Linked DNA regions of Homo sapiens: all the other regions are linked to region 1. The links are contacts of gene promoters, found by promoter capture Hi-C in blood cells and fetal thymus (Javierre and others, 2016). All regions are on one chromosome and are shown on one strand. The core of a region is centred on a gene start or on the middle of the fragment in contact, and the rest is flanking DNA. Distances in the headings are between cores, read along the strand shown. Region 1 holds the start of TCTN3 (tectonic family member 3). Region 2 holds the start of SLC25A28-DT (SLC25A28 divergent transcript). Region 3 holds the start of GOT1-DT (GOT1 divergent transcript).

The links. Contacts are between HindIII fragments. The CHiCAGO score rates a contact against its expected background, and 5 or more counts as called.
Region 2: the fragment with the promoter of SLC25A28-DT here is called in contact with the fragment with the promoter of TCTN3 in region 1 in 1 of 17 cell types (total CD4 T cells); the score reaches 5.9 in total CD4 T cells.
Region 3: the fragment with the promoter of GOT1-DT here is called in contact with the fragment with the promoter of TCTN3 in region 1 in 1 of 17 cell types (total CD8 T cells); the score reaches 7.2 in total CD8 T cells.

Annotation. Positions count from the first base shown.
Region 1 is chr10:95,692,344-95,695,542 of GRCh38, reverse strand. TCTN3 (tectonic family member 3) reads left to right here and starts at 1,616. Exons shown (of 14, transcript NM_015631.6): 1 at 1,616-1,899; 2 at 2,067-2,190; 3 at 2,505-2,623. The coding sequence starts at 1,644. It also overlaps a transcript of ENTPD1 not described here. RefSeq lists enhancers at 656-1,157, 1,632-1,911. The HindIII fragment of the contact is 4,584 bases long and covers 1-2,885 here.
Region 2 is chr10:99,619,088-99,622,286 of GRCh38, reverse strand. SLC25A28-DT (SLC25A28 divergent transcript) reads right to left here and starts at 1,442. Exons shown (of 1, transcript NR_186534.1): 1 at 369-1,442. SLC25A28 (solute carrier family 25 member 28) reads left to right here and starts at 1,848. Exons shown (of 4, transcript NM_031212.4): 1 at 1,848-2,242. The coding sequence starts at 1,952. RefSeq lists enhancers at 292-873, 874-1,456, 2,040-2,622 and silencers at 1,108-1,267, 1,998-2,157. The HindIII fragment of the contact is 4,603 bases long and covers 1-1,656 here.
Region 3 is chr10:99,429,451-99,432,649 of GRCh38, reverse strand. It overlaps GOT1-DT (GOT1 divergent transcript), which reads right to left and starts at 1,714. Exons shown (of 5, transcript NR_183993.1): 1 at 1,385-1,714. GOT1 (glutamic-oxaloacetic transaminase 1) reads left to right here and starts at 2,026. Exons shown (of 9, transcript NM_002079.3): 1 at 2,026-2,202. The coding sequence starts at 2,085. RefSeq lists enhancers at 1,446-1,875, 2,056-2,105, 2,126-2,185. The HindIII fragment of the contact is 5,235 bases long and covers 1-1,941 here.

The sequences.
Region 1 (3,199 bases), core at 367-2,866:
CTGACTTCAAAACATTAGAAAATAAAGATCTTGTAAGAGAATTCAAGTAAAGTCAAATGTCCTAAAACTTACCTGAGTTAAATGATTCACTTGTAAAGGGAGGTGTTGACCAGATTTTAGGTAAGTGTACTAGATTTTAGATAACTCTTAACAGATGTTAATTTATATACTAAAACTAAATATCCAAAATAATCCAGATGTCAGAACCGTGGACATAGGAAAATACTGGGTCTAGGAGGAGCAATATTTTGATCATCTACAGTCCCACTGTACAATATGGTAGCTACTCACGTCTGTGGTTAACTTTGAATTAATTACAATTTAAAAATTAAAAATTCAGGCCAGGCACAGCGACTCACAGCTGTAATCCCAGCACTTTAGGAGGCCAAGGCGGGAGGGTCACTTGAGGTCAGGAATTCGAGACCAGCCTGGACAACATGGTGAAACCCCATCTCTACTAAAAATAAAAATAAAATTAGCCGGGCGTGGTGGCGCGTGCCTGTCATCCCAGCTACTCAGGAGGCTGAAACAGAAGAATCACCTGAATCCTAGAGGCAGAGGTTGCAGTGAGCTGAGATCACACCACTGCACTCCAGCCTGAGCGACAGAGCGAAACACCGTCTCAAAAAAAAAAAAAAAAAAAAAAATCAGCTCCTCAGTCACGCTAGCCACATTTCAAGCGCACAATTGCCACATAAGGCCGGTGACTACCATGCTGGACAGTGCAGCTACGGTACATTTCCAATACCGAAGGAAAGTCCCATGGCCCGCGCTGCTGTGGGGAATCGGAAGAGGCACGCCATTCCCGGGAAGAACAAAAACCTCCTAGAGAGGCTTAAAAAATTTGCCATTAACACGGGGAAAAAAATCTTCTATTTCCATTCCTCCATCTTATTTTCTCACCTCCTAGACAATGTTTCTTTTTTTTATTCTTTCTCTCCCTATTTTCTCACATTTTTCCTGCCCTTTTTTCTTATTTTTCTCTCACTGCTTTTTCTAACAACAAACATGCAGTCCATCTTTAATGATTTGATGCATTTCTTTAGGGTTTTCAAAATTTCTCAATGTTAAAATGTAAGGAGCTGAATGAACATTATTTCTAATGTGTTTTTTTTTTTTTTAAAAAAGCCATATTTAGAGGAGACTGTTTTTTAAGGTATGTGACCTTAGGTGTGTTTCCCCCACCTGAGAACATTATTCTTCCATAGAAAGGGTTTCTCACCGTTGGAATCCGGGGTGAAAAAAAATTTGCAATTCTAGTTCCGGCCTCTGGGGTTTCCTTGCACCGGAGGCCGGGCTCAGTCCTCTGGGCCGCGAAGTGGGCGCGGAACCTCTCGGTCCGCCGAACTCCTACCGCCACCTAGCGGAAGGAAGGCGCAAGGGCTTCTTCGTCACTGACGGTTGCCAGGCAACGGAGGCACGGCCCGGCCCGCGTTAAGGAGGAGGGCGCAGACCGAAGGACACTGAAAGAGCTGTAACAACCCCACTTTCGATTGGTTGAAGAGCTCTCAGCCTTCTCATGAGCCAATGAGAAGAGGCACGCGGATGGCGTCAGACGCTATGCGACTCCTCCCACCCACGCTCTGGCAATGCGATTGGAGACCGCGGAGGCCTACGTCGGACCCGGAGGCCCTGAATGCCCCATGCGCACCCCACAGCTCGCGCTCCTGCAAGTGTTCTTTCTGGTGTTCCCCGATGGCGTCCGGCCTCAGCCCTCTTCCTCCCCATCAGGGGCAGTGCCCACGTCTTTGGAGCTGCAGCGAGGGACGGATGGCGGAACCCTCCAGTCCCCTTCAGAGGCGACTGCAACTCGCCCGGCCGTGCCTGGACTCCCTACAGTGGTCCCTACTCTCGTGACTCCCTCGGCCCCTGGGAATAGGACTGTGGACCTCTTCCCAGGTGAGGGAAAACGTTGTGGGGGTGGAAACTTACTTCTGAGATCTAAAATTCTGTGAGCAAAGTTGAGCTGCCACAAAGCAGGAGTGGGGCTGTCGGAAGAAGGAGGGTGAGCACCTGGGAGAGTTTGGGGATCTTCATCCCACTCACTCTGTGTCGTACTTTCATAGTCTTACCGATCTGTGTCTGTGACTTGACTCCTGGAGCCTGCGATATAAATTGCTGCTGCGACAGGGACTGCTATCTTCTCCATCCGAGGACAGTTTTCTCCTTCTGCCTTCCAGGCAGCGTAAGGTGAGCTTCGTTGCTCAGACTGAATCCTAAAGGGGTTTGGGGCCTACAACGGGTAACATTTGGATGTAAGAAGAGTTAGTCTTTGTGCCTCCCACCCGTACTTCCACTCCTAGGACATTCCCTTGGTTTTTCCTAGGAATTGCCTTTTCTGATTCTCTAGAGCAGGGCTGGCCAGTAGAATAAGACCTTCGTGTCGTCCTATAGGTGCCCAAGGAGTCCTCTTTGGCATCATCTGGCCGATATTGCTGGGACACTCTTTTTTGGACCTGCCCCGCCCCTTCTAAATATATCTTCTCCCTCCTCTTTCCTCACAGGTCTTCAAGCTGGGTTTGTGTAGACAACTCTGTTATCTTCAGGAGTAATTCCCCGTTTCCTTCAAGAGTTTTCATGGATTCTAATGGAATCAGGCAGTTTTGTGTCCATGTGAACAACTGTGAGTAGAAACATGTTGGTTGTTCTCATTTTCTAACACAGGAGTGTTATATTTTGTCTTCCCTGGCCCACATTGGAAGAAGAATTGTCTTGGGCCACACGTAAAATACACTAACGATAGCTGATGAGTTAAAAACAACAACAAAAAAAAAGCAAAAAAAATGTCAAATGTTTTAAGAAAGTTTACAAATTTGTGTTGTTGGGCTGCATTCATAAGCCGTCCTGGGCTGCATGCGGCCGGTGGGTTGCAGGTTGGACAAGCTTGGTCTAACATTTATTGAGAATTGGCTTTTATTCTGGCCTTTTTTCCATTTCTTTTTTTTAAACTTTTTTTTTTTTTGTCCTTTGAATCTCTACGCCTCTTTCTGCCTCTTCTCTCTTATTACGGAATACATTTGCATTTTTGTTTTTTTTTGAGACGGAGCCTCCACCTATCGCCAGGAGTGCAGTGCAGTGGCACGATCTCAGCTCACTGCAACCTCCACCTCCCGGATTAAAGTGATTCTCCTGCCTTAGCTTCCCGAGTAGCTGGGACTATGGGTGTGTGCCACCATGACCAGCTAATTTTTGTATTTTT
Region 2 (3,199 bases), core at 193-2,692, 3.9 Mb before region 1:
ATGAACACGGCTCACTGCAGCTTCGACCTCCCTGGCGCAAGCAATCCTCCCCCAAGTAGCTGAGACTACAGGTGCACACCACCATACCCAGCTAATTTTTGAATTTTTGTACTTTTTTGTATTTATTATTTTGTAGAGACGGGGTTTTGCCATGTTGTCCAGGCTGGTCTCGAACTCCTGAGCTCAATAAATCGTCCCACCTCGGCCTTCACAGTGTTGGGGTCACAGGCATGAGCCACTGCGCCGGCCAGGGAGAGGTTAACCAGGTTAATGGACCCCTAGGGTGTCCACATGGCACCTTCAGGGACTCTGAAACGCAGAAATGATATGCAAAATTTTGAGTGCACACAGGGGATGGGAGGTGGAAGTAGGAGAAGAGAATTCGTAGTTTTATTATTTTCCAAACGGTCGCGACCTAAAGGTTAATAACAACTGCTGAAGAGAGTAGAAAAAGTTTTTAAAAAGGAAGCCCAGAGAAGAGCTAAACTTTAGAAAGAAAAAAGGAAAACATCTTTCCTATCCAAGGAAAACCTATGAACAGATGGAGAAGTCCACAGTTGCATCATCTGGGTAAAACAGAGAAGACAGAGCTGGAAACCGCGGGCAGCTTGTGCCAACACGCTCGGGGAAGGCAAATGGAAGAAGACGCCCGTGCTCCCTAGAGCAGGAGGTCCTAAGGCCGGGAATCGCTGGCCTTGCCTCTCAGGACCCGGGCTGACCCGAGGGAGGGAGAAGCCCTCATCGCCAGGCGGGGGACCCATCAGCGCGCCGGCTCAGGGACAAAATACTGATGCTTCAGACTCGGCCAGGCCGTGCGTCCGAGCTTCCCCACAGCCGCCGCACTTCCCTGCTGCCTTTGGGATGCGGCCTCCAGCCCCGCCTCGCCACCGGCCGTCATCTGTGAATCATCCCGCCCATTTCGACATCTTCCTCCCCCGCCTTCGGCTCTTGGCCTGGCGCAGAGCCCAGTGACAGCCGGGGCCCGGGGAACCTCATTCATTCAACACTTGTTGGGTTTACTCTGCGAATGTGGATGCGAGGCTCAGTGCCGGGCGCTGGGGCCTGAGGAGCACCGAGTCCGGCCAGAGGGCCCAATACTCCAGACCCGACCAGAGTCTAGCGGGCCGCCGCGGTCCCCCCTGGAGGTGAGGCGGTTCCCAGCCCGCATGTCGCAACGGCTTCCCGGACAGGCTGCGGGTCGCGCCAGCCAGGGATGACCGGCCCAGGCCGGCCCCGCCTCACGCCCGCGACGAGATCCCGCGGGAACACGGCTCTCCGGGGCCAGGGCCGCCCGCTCTCCAGCCACGCGTCTCAGAATTTGAGGAGCGCACGGGAGCGCGGGTCGTAACGGCGCCCGTCAGCAGTTTGACGTTGAAGGCCTGTCGCCGCCCCGCCCCCGACGCGATCCCGCGCACAGGGACCGCAGCTCTGCAGGCGCTAGTGAGGGGCCCGAAGTCGGCCCCTAGAGTCCCTGGGCGCGTCGCTCTTTCTGTAGCCAATCGGGGACCGACGTGGTGCGGGCCAATGGCCGCGGTCAAAGTATCAAGAGTGGTTGAGCCTATCAAAGTTCAGCCTTAAGTTTCTCCCGCCCTTCTAAAAGTCAGAGGCGGGTTGATCGCACATGTCGGCCAATCAGTGACCAATAAACAAGAAGCTTCTAAGATCAAAGGGGAAAAGGTGGGATGTAGGCGCTAGCAACGCCTCAGGGCGGAGGAATGACAGGCGACTTCGCTAATACTACCGGCTGATTTTTCGTACGTAAGGAAAGGGGTGGGTCTAACTTGGCGTCTCCACCAATGGTTGCTTGGGGGGCGTGTCCGCGGGGCCAAGCGGGAGCCGGAGGCCCCGGGCTCTCTGGGCCGCGCCTGAGGCGGACACTACGGGGCCGGGGGGCGGCGGCGGCAGTGGTGGCAGCGGCGGCGGGGGTGGGCGCCGCAGCTGGCCCGGGTGGATGGAGTTGGAGGGGCGGGGTGCTGGCGGTGTGGCGGGGGGGCCGGCGGCAGGGCCCGGGCGGAGCCCCGGGGAGTCGGCGCTGCTGGACGGGTGGCTGCAGCGGGGCGTGGGCCGGGGGGCCGGCGGCGGGGAGGCCGGGGCCTGCAGGCCCCCGGTACGACAAGATCCGGACTCCGGCCCGGACTACGAGGCGCTGCCGGCTGGAGCCACTGTCACCACGCACATGGTGGCAGGCGCCGTGGCAGGGATCCTGGAGCACTGCGTGATGTACCCCATCGACTGCGTCAAGGTGAGACCTGCACCCGGCTTCGAACCCGACCTGGGGCTGACCCGACCCCTGGGTCTTGTCCGGAGCCAGGATCCCGGCTGAGAGCCGGAGCCGACATGGGTTCCTTCCTGGCTCCTGCCACTACCACATGATTCGAACCGACACTCCATTCAAGCAAGGTCCCAGCTGGGAGTTGATCCCAGTCAGGAACCAGGACCTATTTCTAACCGTCAGTGAAATCTGAATCGGGACTCAGGATCGAAAATCTGTCAGCCAAAGCCCTGGACCCCACCTGGGACTAAACAGGAATAGGGTGGGATGGGGTATCCCGAAGCTCAGGTAAGTGCTACTAACTCGATTAAGGTGAAGCCAACTGGCGTGAACCAGACCCTGAAATGGATCTAACGGCTTGAGATGTTTTCTGGGCTAGTGCTTTTACAAACTCCTTGCTGTATCTTCCCTTACTGACGGGGCAGGAACCCGAATCTGGGATCTCTCAGCTAGATAAAGGACTTACATGTTAAATCTTAACACATGAGTGATTGGAAATCATTGTGCAGTGAGAATGCAGAATTCCAGACTGGAAGTAATGTGGGAAAGATCGTATTCAGGAATAGGTTTCAGTTTCTCTGTGAAGCAAGCATGATACCCCACCTATTTCCTGAACATGAAAATTGAGCTGGGATTAGGACTGTATGTTCAGGGAGCACATCAGCCTCCAAACAAGAGAGATGAAACTGATAGCATATTTCTTTGGCCACCTGAAGTTGGCAAAAAGGGAGAAGTTGCCTAGAAAGGAAGTGTGACGGTATTAGAAAGTAGATGTAAGTATGAAGAAAATGGAAAGAGATCAACAAGAGGACACGATTCTTGTGAAAGTAAAACTAATTGCATTCACAACCAAGCAGGATGATTTATGTGTACTGAAGTCAGGTCCTTCTGAAGAAAGCTGGGTGAAGAAAGAAACAGATTATTGTT
Region 3 (3,199 bases), core at 465-2,964, 3.7 Mb before region 1:
CCCAAATCAAAACTACAATGAGATATCATCTCACACCAGTCAGAATGGCTATTAATAAAAGTCAAGAAATAACAGATGCTGGTTTCTGGTGAGGTTGTGGAGAAAAGGGAATGCTTATACAATGCTGGTGGGAATGTAAATTAGTTCAGTAACCGCGGAAAGCAGTGTGGCGATTTCTCAAAGAACTTAAAACAGAATTACCATTCGACCCAACAATCCCAGTATTGGGTCTATACCCAAAAGAATATAAATCATTCTACCATAAAGATATATGTACATGTATGTTCACTGCAGCACTATTCACAATCGTAAAGACATGGCATCAACCTAAATGCCCATCACCAGTAGACTGAAGAAAATACGGTACATATACACCATGGACTACTATGCAGCCATAAAAAAGAAAGAGATCATGTCCTTTGTAGCAACATGGATGGAGCTGGAGGCCTTTATCCTAAGTGAACTAATGCGGAAGAGAAAACCAAATACTGCATGTTCTGACTTGTAAGTGGGAGCTAAACATTGAGAACACATGGACACAAAGAAGAGAACAACAGACACTGGGACCTACTTGAGGCTAGAGGGTGGGAGGAGGGAGAGGATCAGAAAAAATACCTGTCAAGTACTATGCTTACTATCTGGGTGACAAAATAATTTGTACAACAAACCCACATGACAAGCAATTTATCTATAAAACAAACCTGTGCATGTATCCCGAACCTAAAATAAAAGTAAAAAAAAAAAAAAAAGCAGTTTACCATCTATGAAGGGTGTGGCAGATATGCAATGTTAATAATAGCTGACATTTAGAGAGTCCTTCTTACATGCAACTAACCACTTCGTAAATGTATTAACTCACAAACTCCCCACACCAACTCTGAGGAAAATACTATTATTTCCACAGAGCAGGAACTTCCACAGAGAGGTTAAAATAACTTGACTAAACCTGCCCAAATTCGTAAGCGGCAGCCAGAATCTAAACCTAGATAGTCCGGTCCCGGAGATAGGTTTTTAACCACAAAGGCATTTTCTAAAATTGTGAAAGTACAGAAGCACAGGAAAGAGACATTTTGGCCAGATAAGGGTTAAGGGAAGGCTTCATGGATGAAGTGGCATTCGCTCTGGGTCTTGAAGGTCAGCAGATGGAGAGGGCTCCTGGGGAGGAAGGACTCTAACGGGGAAGGAACAGCCTGACGAAGAGGAACTTTGGGTACCAGCCAGCTGACGACAGCAAGATCTGGTCCGGTGCGCGCGGGAGGAAGCTGGGAAGGGACGTCGCGCCCAGATCCCGAGGTCCTTGAGGACCAGGCCCTCTCTGCAAGGAATCGGGGAGGAAAATCTCAAACTATTAATAGAAGAGCGGCAAAAAGGAATTCGTGCGCACCCCTCTCTGTTGGAAGGACCTTCCCTGCCAGAGACCAAGGCTGGCAGGACAGGTATACTTCCCTCAGGGGGAAACAGCCGACAAAGGTGGTCAAGGTCGCCCGCGCAGGCTCCGGAGCTGCACGTCCTGGACGAACACTCCCGTCCCGAGCACAGACGCTGGGTATTTGGCTGCCAGCCCGGGCCCGCCAGGCCGGGCCTGGCACCGCCAACACCTGCTCGGCGGGAACAGGAAGACCTGTGTTCGGGAACTCCCTCCGGCCACCTCCCCGTATCCTCCTGGCCCTCGAAGGTCGAAAGGTGGCCTCTCAGGGACACCCGCCGCTCGCTCGGCTCCTCCCCTCAGCCGGGAGACCCAAGGAATAACAGCCTCTGCGATAGGAGCACGCTCTACCAATCAACCGTAGTCTTCGCCCACGCCTCAGCCGGAGGAAATTGCATTGGTTGCATCATTCTCGGCAGCCGATAAATTGTTTTCTTGGATTGGCTAATAGCGTTCCTTCTCCCCTGTGCCTTCGTCGTCAGAAGCTGGCGATTGGTTAATCGCGTTGCCAAGCTTTGGACGCGGCTCGACCATTGGAGGCCGCGGGCCCGCCCCCGCCGGCTAGGTGAAGGTGAGTGTCTCCTCCAGTCGCAACGGCCAGACCTGACCTGCCAGCTCCGGGCGTGGGGTGAAATCTCTTGATTCCTAGTCTCTCGATATGGCACCTCCGTCAGTCTTTGCCGAGGTTCCGCAGGCCCAGCCTGTCCTGGTCTTCAAGCTCACTGCCGACTTCAGGGAGGATCCGGACCCCCGCAAGGTCAACCTGGGAGTGGGAGGTAAGGATGTAGTGCTCTGGAGTGTGAGCAGCTCGGGGAGTGGAGCGGACCCAACCCAGGTCGTGGAGACTGTGGGAGAAGCCGAGGCCCAGTGTGGCGCTGCCTGAAGAGGGCGGCGCCGGAGAGGAGGCTGGATCCACGAAGGCTTCCTAAAACCTGCCCATTTTACAGATGCAGGTGTGGAGTCCCTGGAAAGGGGCGATGTGTCCGAGGCCGCACAAACCAGGTGTAGCAGCCAAGACACAAACTCAGTCTTTCCGATTCCCCATTCTGCCTTCTTTATACTGCATCCTCCTAAGAAATGAGGCTGCCGGAGCTTGTAGAGAGAGGTAGAAAAATAGGAAGCCTGATAGGCTTAGGGTTCTGGTTGCTAGGAAATGGGTAAAGGAGAACTTTTAACGCTAGAAAGCTCTGTTCTGAGTCGGTAAATATTTGAGTGACCACCGAGTATCAATCAGCCACCTTATTAAGCTTTGTAGGGGGAGACTGAGGCTTGATTTTGCCCTTAAGGATTTAAAAATCTGCTGGTGTTACACAATGCTTTGAGACAGGTTAATGCTGCCCCCGGGGGGTCTGGGGAGATGGTTCTGGCCGTCACAGATGTGGTAGGAATGGGTAGAGATGGTGGAAAGGAGTGGAGAGAAGTATGGATGGTAGAAGCTTACTTTCCACACATCCTATCTTCATTTCTTGATTCAAGTGATTCTCTTCTGTACCTTGGACAGCTCAGAGCATGGGCCTCAGTTTCCCCATCTGCCAAGAAGATTTATATTGGAGTGCCTCTCAAATTTTTTACCCCTAACCCTCTCTGATGAATTTGTTATTCTTCTCACTATCATTTGGATGTTTGAAGCCCCACAGACACTTATTTTCTCCATTTGGATTTTGCCACGTGCAAAGACCAGCCAGAGAGATGAAAATGGGTAGGATAAAGTCTTATGCTAGGTAATAGACTTAGAATAAAAGGACTAGAAATTGTGGAAAGAGAAGGTGGAAT